4 separate regions of the Homo sapiens genome follow, and all the other regions are linked to region 1. Evidence: promoter capture Hi-C in 16 types of primary human blood cells and fetal thymus (Javierre and others, 2016). All regions are on one chromosome and are shown on one strand. Each heading gives the region's core, a stretch centred on a gene start or on the middle of the fragment in contact. The rest is flanking DNA. Distances are from core to core; before and after follow the strand shown. Region 1 holds the start of ZNFX1 (zinc finger NFX1-type containing 1). Region 2 holds the start of RNF114 (ring finger protein 114). Region 3 overlaps SLC9A8 (solute carrier family 9 member A8). Region 4 overlaps SPATA2 (spermatogenesis associated 2).

The links. The method cuts DNA at HindIII sites, captures the fragments that hold promoters and counts their contacts. A CHiCAGO score of 5 or more calls a contact.
Region 2: the fragment with the promoter of RNF114 here is called in contact with the fragment with the promoter of ZNFX1 in region 1 in 6 of 17 cell types (naive CD8 T cells, total CD8 T cells, naive CD4 T cells and 3 more); the score reaches 8.1 in naive CD8 T cells.
Region 3: a contact is called between a fragment that was not itself captured here and the fragment with the promoter of ZNFX1 in region 1, in 1 of 17 cell types (activated CD4 T cells). The highest score is 5.8, in activated CD4 T cells.
Region 4: a contact is called between a fragment that was not itself captured here and the fragment with the promoter of ZNFX1 in region 1, in 8 of 17 cell types (naive B cells, naive CD8 T cells, activated CD4 T cells and 5 more). The highest score is 8.4, in naive B cells.

The regions. Positions count from the first base shown.
Region 1 is chr20:49,276,178-49,279,924 of GRCh38, forward strand. ZNFX1 (zinc finger NFX1-type containing 1) reads right to left here and starts at 1,880. Exons shown (of 14, transcript NM_021035.3): 1 at 1,844-1,880. ZFAS1 (ZNFX1 antisense RNA 1) reads left to right here and starts at 2,001. Exons shown (of 4, transcript NR_036658.2): 1 at 2,001-2,539; 2 at 2,927-3,031. It overlaps SNORD12C (small nucleolar RNA, C/D box 12C), which reads left to right and starts at 2,768; the gene lies at 2,768-2,846. RefSeq lists enhancers at 1,055-1,114, 1,456-1,956, 1,957-2,457, 2,215-2,509, 2,385-2,584 and silencers at 1,655-1,884, 1,935-2,294. The HindIII fragment of the contact is 6,236 bases long and covers 1-3,081 here.
Region 2 is chr20:49,934,285-49,937,817 of GRCh38, forward strand. RNF114 (ring finger protein 114) reads left to right here and starts at 2,113. Exons shown (of 6, transcript NM_018683.4): 1 at 2,113-2,268. The coding sequence starts at 2,129. RefSeq lists silencers at 1,314-1,393, 1,960-2,149, 2,608-2,902, 3,188-3,482 and an enhancer at 1,762-2,367. The HindIII fragment of the contact is 14,536 bases long and covers 1-3,533 here.
Region 3 is chr20:49,819,314-49,822,938 of GRCh38, forward strand. All of the region lies in intron 2 of SLC9A8 (solute carrier family 9 member A8), which reads left to right. Among named protein-coding and RNA genes, the nearest start is that of SLC9A8, 8.3 kb to the left of the region's middle. The HindIII fragment of the contact is 4,761 bases long and covers 1-3,625 here.
Region 4 is chr20:49,911,683-49,915,205 of GRCh38, forward strand. All of the region lies in intron 1 of SPATA2 (spermatogenesis associated 2), which reads right to left. Among named protein-coding and RNA genes, the nearest start is that of SPATA2, 2.1 kb to the right of the region's middle. RefSeq lists an enhancer at 2,865-3,034. The HindIII fragment of the contact is 2,077 bases long and covers 913-2,989 here.

The DNA.
Region 1 (3,747 bases), core at 630-3,129:
TGTTTGGTTTATGCCTTTAGCCAAGTTACTTAATCAGTTGCTAGGTTTCATTTTCCTTTCCTAAGAAGCAGACAATATTGTTGCCAGGACAAAAAGGAGTACATTTTTGTTAATCCAAAACCATGTGCTCACCACCTTATCTGGCATTTACATATCTGCCACTTATATAGTACCCAATAGCTTGCAGTACCCTACAGTTTATAAATAATTAGTGAGCAGTTATCCCCTTAGCCTACTCTTTGGAATGGAGCCAAATGATTAAGCTCTCTGCTCTACTGAATCAAGAGAAAGAAATTACATGTTTCAATAACCAGGAGGTTTGGCAACTACGAGGTGCTGTTTCCTCAGGACCAGCTAGAAATCTGATATTCTTTCTTCCTCCTCATTCTTCTACCTTGGTGATTTTTGACACTGGTCCTGTAAGAGGAAGAGGAAGCCCCTTTAAGGGAGCTTCTCAACCCAACTCATACACATGGTGTGGGCTGGGGCTAAGGAAAGAGTGGGTGACTCAGAGTCCTCAGCAAAGGGATTTTTGAGACTGTCTTCACTGAGTTCTAAAATATTCATAATTGGAAACTGTGACTACATTTGGCATTATATGAGGGGCAGCTTTTTTCCTCATCTGAAAAAGGAGTCTCTTTTCTTCCCCCTGGGAATATCTCTGGTGAGTCCCCTCCCTCATCTTATCAAACCCAGCCCTCCTGGCGCAGGCTCAGTATTTAGAGTTTGTTTGTTTATTTTCAATTCTCCGAGGGGAAAATTCCTTCTTCCCCTTGTTGAAAAATGCTAAAATAGAAACTCCAGAAAATTTAAAAGAAACGGAAGAAAAGAAAAAAAGATGTTAAAAAAAAGGCAAGGGAAGGAAGGGAGGAGTAGACATGAACAGGAAATGCTGGGATCGAAAACAGACTGAAGTGTTTTTTTTTGGTGGGGGGAATCAAGGCCTAAAGGGCACGAAGAAGAAAATCAGTGATGATCAAGCTGGCCTGGAGTCAGAATGAGAGGGGCTAGTCATCACCAGAGTGGGACGCAGGAGGCTGAGGTCGGAGGCAGAGCTGGGTTTGGGGGAAGTCTCCAGGGTCCTGGGGAATCCCTGACCCAGGGAGCCCACGGTCCCTAATGGAAATGTTATGGGGTCAGGGAGCGCCAAGGCTGTGAGGTGGCGGGGTTATGGGGGCCTTGGGGAGAGGGTGGTAGCGAGCACCAGGGGGTGCTTGCTGAGGACGGAGGCGGCGGGGTGGGGGCAGGGAGCAGGCTGAAGGGGGTGCCGAGGTGCTCTGTAGAAGAGGGGGATTGATAAGGTGACAGGAGGTGAGGCCGGAGGAATGAGGGGGGTGCGAGTGGCAGAAGGGAGGGCACAGACAGGGGTAGGGGCAGAGGAGATCGAAGTGCTGAGGGCAGAAGCGGTGACGGTGTCGGGGGTGCTGGGGAGAGCGACGGGCCAGCTGAGGGGATGGGGACACTAAAGAGAGTACAGGGGAGCCGAAGGGGCGACGGGGCGCTGAGATGGGCCAGGGGCTGAGTGGGTGACGGGGCGCTGAGTAGGCGATGGAGGTCTGGGGTCTGAGGGGGAGACGGGGCGCTGAGAGGCGCTCTGAGTGGGTGCTGATGCCGCTGGGGGCCAAAGAGGTGACAAGGCTCTGAGTGGGTGATGGGGGTCTGGGGATTGAGGGGGCGACGGGGCGCTGAGGGGCCAGGGGCTCTGAGCGGGTGACGGGTGCGTTGGGGGCTTGAGAGGGTGACAGGTCTTACGGGCAGAGGCAGTGGCGGGTCGGCGCGGGCGCCGGGGTTCGCGGCGAGGCAAGGAAGAATCAGGGGCAGGGGCAGTTGCGGGGCCACTCACCCGGCTCCGGCGCGTCCTTTCACTGCCGCCGGCGAGTGCTGGGGCTTCGGCCCAGGCAGGTCGGTGGCCCCGCCCGGCGCCGCGCACTTTCGGTTTCCGTTCCCCGCAGACCCTGGGCGGAGCCGGGCGGGCGGCCCAGAGGAGGAGAAGGAGGAGGCGGGGGCCCAGGGTGGAGAGCACGAGGGCCTGGCCCAGGCACGGCCGGCGCCTCCGCCCTCGAGGAGGGCGTCACCTCAGCTCCCCCCGGCGGCGGAGCCGGCGGGCTCAGGCGGGCGCGGCTGAGGGGAGCGGACCGCGGGGGGCGGGAGATGACTGCGCCCAAGGCCTTTGCGGGCCTCAGCCGGCCCCAGAGGAAGGGGAACCCGTCGAGCGGTTTGGTGCGTGTGAAGCGCGACATGGCGAGGAAGCGGACAAGCCCGGGTGGCCCGGCGTGTAGAGGGAAGGGGGCGGGGCTAGACGCGGCCTGGACAACTACTAGAGCGCCTCGGGCTGTGCTGCTCGAGACTACATTTCCCAGAGCGACGCGCGCGGAGCGGGCGGGAAAGAGAGCGTTTCGGGTCCAGTGCGCAGGTGCGAAAGCCATCTTTGGTTATATAAGGGAGGTTCAGGAAGCCATTCGTTCTTTCGCGTCTGCGGTGCCCGGAGTGTGGTACTTCTCCTAGTTGCAGTCAGGCTTCATACGCTATTGTCCTGCCCGTAAGTTCCCGTTTTGTGTGTGGTGAGTGGAAACTCCATGTTCTTCGTTGGAGACCTCTGGTCCTCCCTTCCCTTCTTTGTGCCGTCGTCTCTGCGGCCAGCCCTAATCTCCTTCTCGTGGCTTCTCCGTCTCTGACCCCAAATAGGCCTTAAGGGCGTGGGAGAAATGAGTTTCTGGAGCTGGAAAAGCCACTGCCTTCTGCACGGGCCTGAGAAGCCCTTGGCTGGTGTAAATGATGACTTCACTTTTTTCCCCATCAGATCGACAATGCTGACGTCTTATATTTTGCCAGTTAGTTCTGATACATCGGCCTCAAAAGGCCCGGCCTTGTTCGTTTCTGACCGTGGGAAGATGGCGGTTAACGCCCTTTATTTGTTGGTTCACAGGTTAGAGCAGCCAGCGGGTACAGAATGGATTTTGGAAGAGGGAGTCACCACTGGACCTCCAAGGAAGCCACGTGCAGACATCTACAACCTTCGATCTCCTGACGAGTAAGTCTTTGTCTCCTATGGGTCTACTGTAGAAAACACGTGCTTTGAGAAGCTTTAGTTTTCTAGGAAAACGTGGGATTTAACAAAGCACTTTCTATCGAGCATTTATTAGGTATTTAAAAAAGTGTTCTGACGGCCGGGCGCTGTGGCTGACGCCTGTAACCCCAGCACTTGGGGAGGCCAAGGCAGATGGGTCACCTGAGGTCAAGATTTGGAGACCAGCCTGGCCAACATGGTGAAACCCTGACTCTATTAAAAATACAGAAATTAGCTGGGCGTGGTGGTACGCGCCTGTAATCCCAGCAACTCACAAGGCTGAGGCAGGAGAATTGCCCGAACCCGGGCGGCGGAGGTTGTAGTGAGTTGAGATTGCGCCACTGCCCTACAGTCGGGGCAACAGAGCCAGACTCCGTCTCAAAAAAAAAAAAAAAAGAAAAACATGTTCTGAATGTTTTATTCTCACAGTTCAAATATTGGAACTAGGTTTCTGGTGAAGAAACAGGTTTAAGAGAAATGCCTGAAGTGAAAGAACCTTGTTAGTGAAGAGGCGTTTAACATTTTAATGCCACTTAAACATATTTTTGGATTCCATTCTTCCTGTGTGTTGGGGCGCTTAAATTTCCAAGTGGAGGGATGATTTATTGACATATTTTGGAAAGCCAAATGTGTTTTTCTGTTGAACTAGCCACTCAAACCAGTGCCCGACTACATAACTA
Region 2 (3,533 bases), core at 863-3,362, 660 kb after region 1:
AGAGAGAAAGATAAGAAGGAAAGAAAGAAGAAATAAAAGAGATCATACCAAATATCTTCTCCAAGCACAATTGGATAAGGCTAGAAATCAATATGGGGGGGTTAAAAAAAAAAAGAAATCAATATCAAAGGAAAACTGGAAAATTCACAAATTTGTGGAAATTTACACACTCTTAAAAGAACCAATGGATCAAAGAAGAAATCACAAGGGAAATTAGAAAATACTCAGAAACAGGCCAGGCTGGGTGGCTCACACCTGTAATCCCAGCATTTTGGGAGGCCGAGGTTGGCGGATCACTTGAGGTCAGGCGTTTGAGACCAGCCTGGCCAACATTGTGAAACCCTGTCTCTACTAAAAATACAAAAATTAGCCAGGCGTGGTGGCAGGCACCTGTAATCCCAGCTACTTGGGAGGCTGAGGCAAGGGAATTGCTTGAATCCAGGAGAGGGAGGCTGCAGCGAGCAGAGATTGCACCAATGCACTCCAGCCTGGGCGACAGAGTGAGACTCCATCTCAAAATAAATAAATTAATTAAATAAATAGAGAAAATATTGAGAAACAAATGAAAACAAAAACACAGCATGCCAAAATTTACTGGACACAGTGAAAGCAGTGCTCAGGGGAAATTTTATAGCTATAAGTGCTTCAAAATCATAGACAGAAAATTGCCAGGGCCTGGGGGTATGGGGATGGGAGGAGGGAAGAGGAAGTTATTGTTTAATGGGGACAGAATTTCAGTTTCAGTTTAGCAAGAAGACCAGAATTTTAGAGATAGCTGATGGTGATGATTGCACAATATGAAATGAATGTACTTTGTTGTTGGGGTTTTTTTGTTTTGTTTTGTTGTTGTTGTTGTTGTTTTTTGAGAGGGAGTCTCGCGCTGTCGCCCAGACTGGAGTGCAGTGGCAAGATCTTGGCTCACTGCAAGCTCCGCCTCCCAGGTTCAAGCCATTCTCCTGCCTCAGCCTCCCGAGTAGCTGGGACTACAGGCGCCCGCCACCACGCCCGGCTAATTTTTTGTATTTTTAGTAGAGACAGGGTTTCACCGTGTTAGCCAGGTTGTGTTTTTGTTTTTTTTTTTTTTTTTCAGACGGAGTTTCGTTCTTGTTGCCCAGGCTGGAGTTTAGTGACTGTTGGAGTGAGTGAGCCATCTTGGCCCACGGCAACCTTCGCCTCCCAGGTCAAAGGCTTTTCCTGCCTCAGCGTCCTGAGTAGCTGAGGCTACAGGCATGGGCAACCACGCCTGGCTAATTTTAGTATTGTTAGTAGAGACGGGGTTTCACCATGTTGGCCAGGCTGCTCTAGTACTCCTAGGCTCAAGCGATCCGCCCACCTCGGCCTCCCAAAGTGCTGAGATTACAGAAGTAAGCCACCTTGCCCAGCTCCTTTGTATAAATAAATGATATTGATTTTCTTCTTGCAGCTCAGGAATTAGATCTGTTATTAGAATTTGCTTAAATTTAAGAAATGGCTGGGTACTGTGGCTCACCGCTGTAATCCCAGCACTTCGGGTTGCCGAGGCAGGCGGATTGCTTGCGTCCAAGAGTTCGAGGCCAGCCTCGGCAACACAGTGAGACCCGCCCGCTCTCTGCACCACTCCTTCCCCCCCTCCTTTCCCCGTCTCTACAAAAAATACAAAAATAAATAAATTAGTCCGGCATGGTGGTGACTGCCTGTGGTCCAGCTACGCAGGAGGCTGAGGTGGGAGGATCGCTTGAACCCCGGTGGTCGAGGCTGCAGGGAGCCATGATCGCGCGCGCCACTGAACACCAGCCTGGGCGACAAAGCAAGACCTTGTCCCAAAATAGATTAAATAAATAAATAAATAAATTTAAGGAAAAAGCAACTTGATTCGAAGATAAATAGTGATAGTGCAAGTGGTGCCGAACTAACGATAAATTTGGAAAACAGCGGCCCACGCGCAGAGCCCGTCCCAATTCTGGCAGCCTTTGGATTTGGCTTCCACGTTTTCCAGATTTCCCTCGGCCTCTAGCTCGCTTGCGTCAGAGGGGCCCCGAGGGGCGGCCCACCCGCTAGCCCCGCCCCCAACCGCTCACCGCCCCGCGAGCCCCGCCCCCTCGGCCTCCTCCTCATCGGCCGCCGTTGCGCGGCGCAGAGCGGCAGCAAGATGGCGGCGCAACAGCGGGACTGCGGGGGTGCTGCGCAGCTGGCGGGGCCGGCGGCGGAGGCTGACCCCCTAGGACGCTTCACGTGTCCCGTGTGCTTAGAGGTGTACGAGAAGCCGGTACAGGTGCCCTGCGGACACGTGTAAGCGGCGAGCCCGGGCCTGGTCGGGGGGCGCTTAACTGGGAAGGGAATGGAGCCGAGGAGCGAGATGGGTCTCAGGGCGGGAGCCAGAGGACCCACCCAGAGGGGCCTCCCGGGGGTGTCCCCCGGGGCTCCTAAGGGCCGTGAAAGCTGCCGGGGCGCTCTTCTGTCCCGCCCCGCTCACTCCTAAGTATCCCGTTCCTCCGCCCGTCTTAGCGGGGCAGCTGCTGTCTGTTGAGCGCCTGCGATGTTCCAGGCGGCCTGTCAGTCTCCTTCCCACACGTGATAGTGGACTCGTGCCCTGCGGGGACTTTAGGCTCCGAAGTCCGCCCTTGGAGAGCCGACGTTTCCTTTCTAGTCCACGTCGCTCTTAAAGCATAGGACATTTGGCGTCGTGTCTAGCTGTGGCGAGTTATTCTACTGTGCACTAAAGTCGGGAGAAACGCTGAACTAGACTAAAACAACAAAAGGGAAGTCTTTATGGGGATCTGGCCAGTTTGCCCTTAGCTGTGAAAGGGGGGTGGGAGTTGGCAGATGGGATTGTTAGCATTCTACTTCCTGTGTAGGAGGTTTGTTTCTTTCAGTTTTCAATTAAGCCTTCATGACCTGAATATTGTGAATAGAGTGGTTATAATGATTAAAGCAGATATGTGTATAAATGTCCAGTCCAGGTCCTGGGCTGTGGCCGGGGCTTTCGAGGTTGGTCAGGTTGGTCGATTTGAATCTAAGCCTTGTTCCATCAGACGCACAAACACATCTGAGTTGAAAGAATTGTAGACAACGTGGCCACCTGCTTCTTGCCTCAGAATTGGCTTTTCCTCTGGCCCCTCTCAGTGCTTATCGTGGGATCACCTTGGCATTGGTCTTGGCAGCGGGCACAGTAGCCATTGCACTCCATGGGCATTATTCTATAGCCACCCTGCAGCGGGGGAGGGTTGGCAGCCATTTTACAGGTGAATACACTGAGGGTCCGAGGCTCTCTTAGGGAAGGGTCACCGTGGCCTAGCTCTTCCCAGATGTACTGCAGGTGACCATTTCAGTAGTCCAGAGAACAGTGCTTGGCACCTAGCTGGCTGCTTTTTGCTTCATCATGTTGCTTTAGGCTATTCATCTTTGCAATTCGGTTAGCCTGGAACTCTTCCCCCCACCCCTCCCTTTTCAGGCTTCAAGTCCCAGGTTAAGTTACCTCACCAAATACCATCCCCATCTAAATTACTTCCCCCACTTCCTTTCTGGGACTTAACTTCCTTCTCCTTGCTTGCACA
Region 3 (3,625 bases), core at 890-3,389, 540 kb after region 1:
TTGCCCTTTCTTGCTCGGTTTTTTTCCAAGTGTACTTGAAAACGTGCTTGTTTTTGCATATACAGATGTATATTCGTAAGTACATGCAGAAACACAAATAATACATGTTTGGAGTTGCAAATTTGTTTTGACATAAATGGGGTCCCATAACTTGCCTTTTCATCTCACAGAATGTCTTGGAGATCATTGTATTGGTGTTTTTTCTGTCTACCTCATTCTTTTTTTTTTGTAGTAAATACATAACATACATTTACAATTTTAACCACTTTAAAATGTACAGTTCAGCAGCATCTAGTACATTCACAATGTTGTGCAGCTATCACTACTATCTAGTTTCAGAACATTTTCATCACCCCAAAAGAAAACCATTAAAAGCAGTCATTCCCCATCCCTCCCTTTTCTAGTCCTTGGCAACCACTATTCTGCTTTCTGTCTCTAGGAATTTGCCTATTTAGAATATTTCATATAAATGAAACCATATAATACGTGGCCTTTTGTGTCTGGTTTCTATTACTTAGCATAATGTTCTCAAGATTCATGTTATAGCATATGTTAGAATTGCATTCCTTTTTATGGCTGAGTAATATTCCACTGTATGGATATGCCACATGATGTTTATTCATTCATCAGTGAACATTTGGATTGTTTCTACCTTTTGGCTGTTGTGAATACTGCTGCTGTGAACATTTGTGTATAGGCTTTTGTGTGGATAAATGTTTTTATTTCTTTTGGATATATACCTGCAAGTGGAATTGCCGAGTCAAACGGTTACTGTATGTTTAACTTTCTCAGAAACTGACAAATGTTTTCCACAGGGGCTGCACCATTTTACAAGGGTTCCGGTTTCTCCATGTTCTTGCGAACACTTGTTTTCTGGTTTTAAAAAAATGATAGACTGGGCGTGGTGGCTCATACCTGCAATCTCAGCACTTTGGGAGGCTGAGGCGGGAAGATCACTTGAGGCCAGGAGTTCGAGACCAGCCTGGCAATATGGCGAAACCCTGTCTCTCCTAAAAATACAAAAAAATTAGCTGGGTGTGGGCGTGGTGGCATACACCTATAATCCCAGCTATTCGGGAGGCTGAGGCACTAGAATCATTTGAACCTGGGAGGTGGAGGTTTCAGTGAGCTGAGATTGCACCACTGCACTCCAGCCTGGGTGACAGAGTGAGACTCTGTCTCGGGGAAAAAAAAAATTATAGCTATCCTAGTGGATATGAAATTGTATTTTTGTTTTGTTTTGTTTTTTTTGAGATGGAATCTTGCTCTGTCTCCCAGGCTAGAGTGCAGTGGCATGATCTTGGCTCACTGCAACCTCTACCTCCTGGGTTCAAGTGATTCTCCTGTCTCAGCCTCCCATATAGCTGGGATTCAGGTGCGCACCACCACACCCTGCTAATTTTTGTATTTTTAGTAGAGACGGCGTTTCACCATGTTGGCCAGGCTGGTCTTGAACTCCGACCTCAGGTGATCTGCTTGCCTCAGCCTCCCAAAGTGCTGGGATTCCAGGTGTGAGCCACCGCACCAGGCCCTCACTGTATTTTTTAAAAAATCTTACATGTCCTTCCAGTGAATCATTGTATTTTGATTTTAGTTTCCCTTGTGACTATTGATGTTGAACATCTTTTGTCTATTCATGTCCTATGCCCGTTTAAAAGCTGTGGTGTTTGTCTCTTGGCTGTTGAGTTTAAGAGTTCTTTATATATTGTGGATAGTACACCTTTATCAGATATATGATTTGCAAATATTTTCTCCCCTTCTATGGATTGTCTTTTCTGACTTTATTCTTTTTAATGGCTGAAGGCTGTTACCTGGCATTGATGAGCCTTATATTAACTCTTTCTGTTAATAGTTTCCCCTTTTGCTCTTAAAGCCGCAAAGAGTTGTTTGATCTATTTATGAGAATAACTTAAATTTTTAAAAATCTAGCTTGGTACAAAGGAAGAGCAGAAACTGGTTCAACTCTCTTGGTCTATTTTCTGTCCACTTATGTGCTTATTTGCCGTTTTTTGTTTTGTCTAGACATTGGGCATGTTCATTAGTCACATGTTATGTTTATGCACTGGAACTTTTTTCTTGCCATTAGTATTTAATGTAGGATTTCTAACTAGGTTAAATATTTATATAAAAATAACACCACAGATTGATAGTTTAAAGCACAGAATGAAAAGAGGACAAAATGTCTACATTTACAACACTCTGGCCACCTGGTGTTTTTTGGTGGGATTAAAGAAACCTAATTTGTCAGTGCAGCCTCTGAGGGTGACCAGTTAACAGGCATGTGGATTGTTTAAACATTTCCTTGAAAAAAATAACAAAATTAATGTTAGTCCTGTTAATACTGTGGTTGATGAGCTGGTATACCATCTAGGTGCCCAGTAAAAGAAAGACATGCACGCTAACATTTGGATTAGGAAATTACATTCAGGAATAATTTTTGTGAAGTACCCATTTTTTTTGCCGGGGGGTTGGTGGGGGCAGAAATATCCCTTTCAAATCGTTTTATTTTACATCTTCTTATTTTCTTTCATAACAACACCTCTGTGAGGAAAGTTAGACATTATTCTGTTTTGGAGATTGAGGAATGAAGGCATCCAGCCAAGTGGGAGGTGGTGGGGTATGCTGTGGTTAAGAGCACAGATTTGGAATCTGACTCAATACTGCAGCACCTACCAGTGGTGTGACAGGGGCTGTGATGTCTAGAAGCCTCAGTTTTCTGATTTGTAATCAGAGAAGATAGTGGTAATGACAGCTAATTCCGAGGGAAGTTGGAGGATTAAATGAGAGAGTATTTGGGGTGTTCAGCCTAGTTCATGGCTCATGGGAAGTCCTCAGCCGATGGGAATGGCAGGACACAGCTGCACCCAGCTGGGGAGCAGGAGTGTTCCATATTCAGATCTCTGATGTTCTTGTCACCAAACCATTTACTTTTTCCTGTTTGTAAAACCCTTACTTCCCTCTATGTTAAGAGCCAGTCACATGATGGCAAAATAATTTGTGTCAATGCAATCTGTTGCAGTTACATTTATGTAAAAGTGATTGATTTCATTGACTTCCTCTTCACCATATAGTGTTCCAGTTGATAATCACTTCCAAAAAGTTGAAGACCATTTCTCAGAATCAGAAAAATTTGAATAATTTTAAATAATTTTATAAGGTTTAACAGCTTATATAAAAAAATAGGTTTCTGGCTGATCACCGTGGCTCACGCCTGTAATCCCAGCACTTTGGGAGGCCAAGGTGAGTGGATTGCTTGAGCCCAAGAGTTGGAGACCAGCCTGTGCAATGTGGCGAAACCCCATCTCTACTAAAAATACAAAAAAATTAGTTGGGTGTGGTGTCATGTGTCTCTAGTCCCAGCTACTTGGGAGGCTGAGATGGGAGAATCACCTGAGCCTGGGAAGTTGAGACTGCAGTGACCCTAGATCATACCACTGCACTCTAGCCTGGATGACACAGTGAGACCCTGTCTCAAAAAAGTTAGATTTCTGTTCCTCTTCCAATAACTACTGGGAAACAAACTAGTTCAGGCAGACAAAGAAGTATAGAGAAAATATAATAAACATTGTAAATGTACCTCCAGTTTAAGAAATGAGACACGAAAAACACCGCTGAAGTTCACTGT
Region 4 (3,523 bases), core at 701-3,200, 640 kb after region 1:
AAAAGAAAAAGAAAAGAGAAAAAGAGAAATGGATGCTGCAAAGGATGTCTGCATTCACGATGCCATCACTTTAGTTTCTCATTGGTACCTCCCAAGAATCCTGGGAGATCAGCTGGAGAGCAAAGAAACGGGCTCAGAAAGATGGCATGAGGTACGACAAGTAGCTCAAGGTTAGCAGATGATGGACCCGATAATCCAAGCCTGGCCTTCTGACTTGGAACCTGTATTCCTCTCACCACCCCACGATTCCCATGTCCAGCAAGCATTTCTGCAGCCCCCACCCTCTGCCTGAGCTGGACCCAGTCGGGGAATGGGGATGGGTGGGACAGGTAGAGGACAGCAATAAAGGAGACACATCCTGCCTGCAGCTCTAGCTGGAAGAGCATACCACCTAGTATCAAAGTAGGTATGTGCTCTAACTTCATACTGTTCTGTCCATAAAAAAATAAACAATTTAAAATGTATATTCTCTTAAAAAATAAAAATGCAGGCCAGGCGCGGTGGCTCACGCCTGTAATCCTACAACTCTGGGAGGCCAAGGTGGGTGGATCGCCTGAGATTGGGAGTTTGAGACTAGCCTGGCCAACATAGCGAAACCCCGCCTCTACTAAAAATACAAAAATTAGCTGGACGAACACCTGTAATCCCAGCTACTCAGGAGGCTGAGGCAGGAGAATGGCGTGAACCCAGGAGGGAGAGGTTGCAGTGAGCTGAGATCGTGCCATTGCACTCCAGCCTGGGCAACAGAGCAAAAACTCCATCTCTACATAAATAAATGTATTGCACCACTGGAGAGGATAGTCACACATGCATTTACCATTCTTGACTTATCTAAGAGAAGCTGCCATCACGCCTCTGGCCCCAGGGTCTGTTTTTTGGTAGTCTGAGAACCATTCAAACACAGAGACATTAAGCTTCCGAATACTGCTGTAATTTTTCTCCAAGGAAGTCAGCCTTGAACTCAAAGAGACTGATTTTTTACAAAGTCAGCCAGTCTCAAGCTCGGCTCAGCGTCTGCTGCTCTATAATCGCACCACAGTCCACACCCTTGTTTGTTGCTGAAAAACAATAAATAAAGGAAAGGGATCCAAACAGCCCAGCTGATGTTCAAAATACTCACAATAAGGACAGGAAGCCTATCTAAAACAAATCTCAAACCAACCTGGGTAGGTGAGGGAAAAGGCGGAAGAAAGTAAAAGCTAAAAGATAATTAAGGGCAAGACAAGCCTGGACAACATAGTTAGACTCCGTCTCTACAAAAAAAAAAAAAAAAAAAATTAGGTGGGTGTGGTGACACCCACCTGTAGTCTTAGCTACTTGGGAGTCTGAGGTGGGGGGATCCACTGAGCCCAGGAGTTTGAGGCTGCAGTGAGCTATGATGGCACCACTGCACTCCGGCCTGGGTGACAGAGCAAGACCTTGTCTCAATCAGTCAATAAGGAAAGGAAAGAAAGAGACTAACAATTACTGAGGTTCTACTATGTGCTAAGCATTGGGCTTCCCACTTTACCTACATCATCCCATTTAATCCTCACAACTCTATAAGGAAAACAGGCTCTTCCCATTAAAACAACCTGCCCAACAGAGTTTGAAAGGGTCAGAGCTGGAATCTGAACTCTTGCTGGGAGGCCCTTGATGCCTGGGCTTTCTCCAATTTACCTCACTCATTTATTGTTACATCAGTACCATTTACCAAGGGATTACTGTGTGGCATCCCTCTGCTAACTGCTCTGTGAAAACCAATGAAATCCACAGGATAGATCCAAGGTTAAAGAGGAAACTGAGGCTCGGAGAGGCCAACTCACTTACCCTAAGTCGTAAGGCTAGGAAGAAGTGGATCTGAGCTCTGAACCTAGGTCTAACGCCAAAACTCCGACTCTTGCAAAGCCATCCTGCTGCATCTGCTGGACAGCTCTACTCGAAAGTGTTTGGCTAAGTTAGAATGCCTTATGGCGGCGCGAGCAGAGTTGAGTTACAAAAATTCCTGTAGTAGCAAAATTCCCATCTTCCCACACCGAATGGGGCTAGGAGAGCTAATCTCTATATGATGTAAGCTCAAGGGCCAAGGAAAGAGGCTGGTCAGAGACATCGGCCAGTGATGAAGCAGCTGACATCATCCCTGCTGAAAACATTTTCTGAGAATACAAGATGCCTTGTAGCTGGTCATAGCTGGTGTTTTTTCTGAGCACAGAGCCAGCAATTCATTCCCAGCACTCTGCAAGAACAACAAAATACGCTCTCTGCAAAAACATCGTGGTTACAGGAGACCGAGACAGCCCAGCGACAGAAGCTGCTAATTTCTCCAAGCAACCCAAGGATTGGAACGCCAAGCCGTGCCAGTCTGGTGGAAAAAAAAAAAAAAAAAAACCCAAAAAACAAAAAAACAGCACTGTGAATATCCTGAACACAGAGACAGGCAGGTGCCCAGAGTCAACGGCTCCAGTCAGCACCTCCTGCACCCACAATCTAGGTACCTTCTTGAAAAGCAAGTCAATGGAAAAAGAGATATTGCACAGTCAGGGAGCCAGTGGCTTCTTTAGTTATTTTTTGAACATCTAAGAGGAAAGCTGTATCTGTTTAGAGTCCCACTGCATGGAAGTGAAGTGATTCCGAGTAGCTAAGCATTAGCTTGGCTTTACCTCAGCTGGCCCATTCAAGCAGAAATGTTCCCCAAGCAGCATTTGAAGGCGCCCCCTCTCTGCACAGGCAGACCTATTTTGGTCTGTGCACTGCCCCTGTCCACAGGTTTACACATCCCTGGTCTAGCTCCATCAGCCTCCAAACAGGAGACGGGGAAGTCAGTTCAACCCCCTCCACCTCCCCACCCACACCAATGCACTCGTTCCAAGCAAGAGGCTCCGAGAAACATCCAAGGCACCTTCCACTGGCTGTGAAACACCAGAAGGTCCCCACACTCCTACTAGATTCCAAAGAAATTCACACAGAGTCCTTCCAAACCTCTGAAAATAACCTCAGCGGTGCTGAAAGAAGCTTCCCTAGTGGCAGCTGCCTCTCTCGGAGAAGCTCTGAAGGAAGCTGTTTCCCTCCCTGCAGGGGACAGAAGCTGGCGGCTGCTAAGTCCCAGCTCGGTCATTCCTACAGCCTCGGGGGGCCACGTCAGTTGTGAAAAACAGCCCAGTCTCAAATTCTGGCCCCCCCTACGGCTTCGTGAATTGAATGAAGTAACAGGAACTATCACTTATTGGACGCCTGCTGTATGCCAGAGGCCCTGCATGATCTCATTCCATCTCCACTCCAGCCCTAGCAACCAGGTTCAATCACTTAAATAGGCAACTGAGGCTCTTAAGATGAAGTGACTTATCCAAGGTCACACAGTGAGTACAAACCCAGGTGTGCCGCCAGAGCCTGAACTGGGAACCCCTGCGCGGTAACTGCCTCGTGGCGAAATCGGGGTGTCCTTCTGTTTGGCCAGTCGCCGAAGAGGGGTGTTCCTCTTGGGCGGCCCTGAGCCACCCTCGGCGGGTCCCAGGAGCCTGCGAGGCAGCTCCCGGGAGAATGGGGG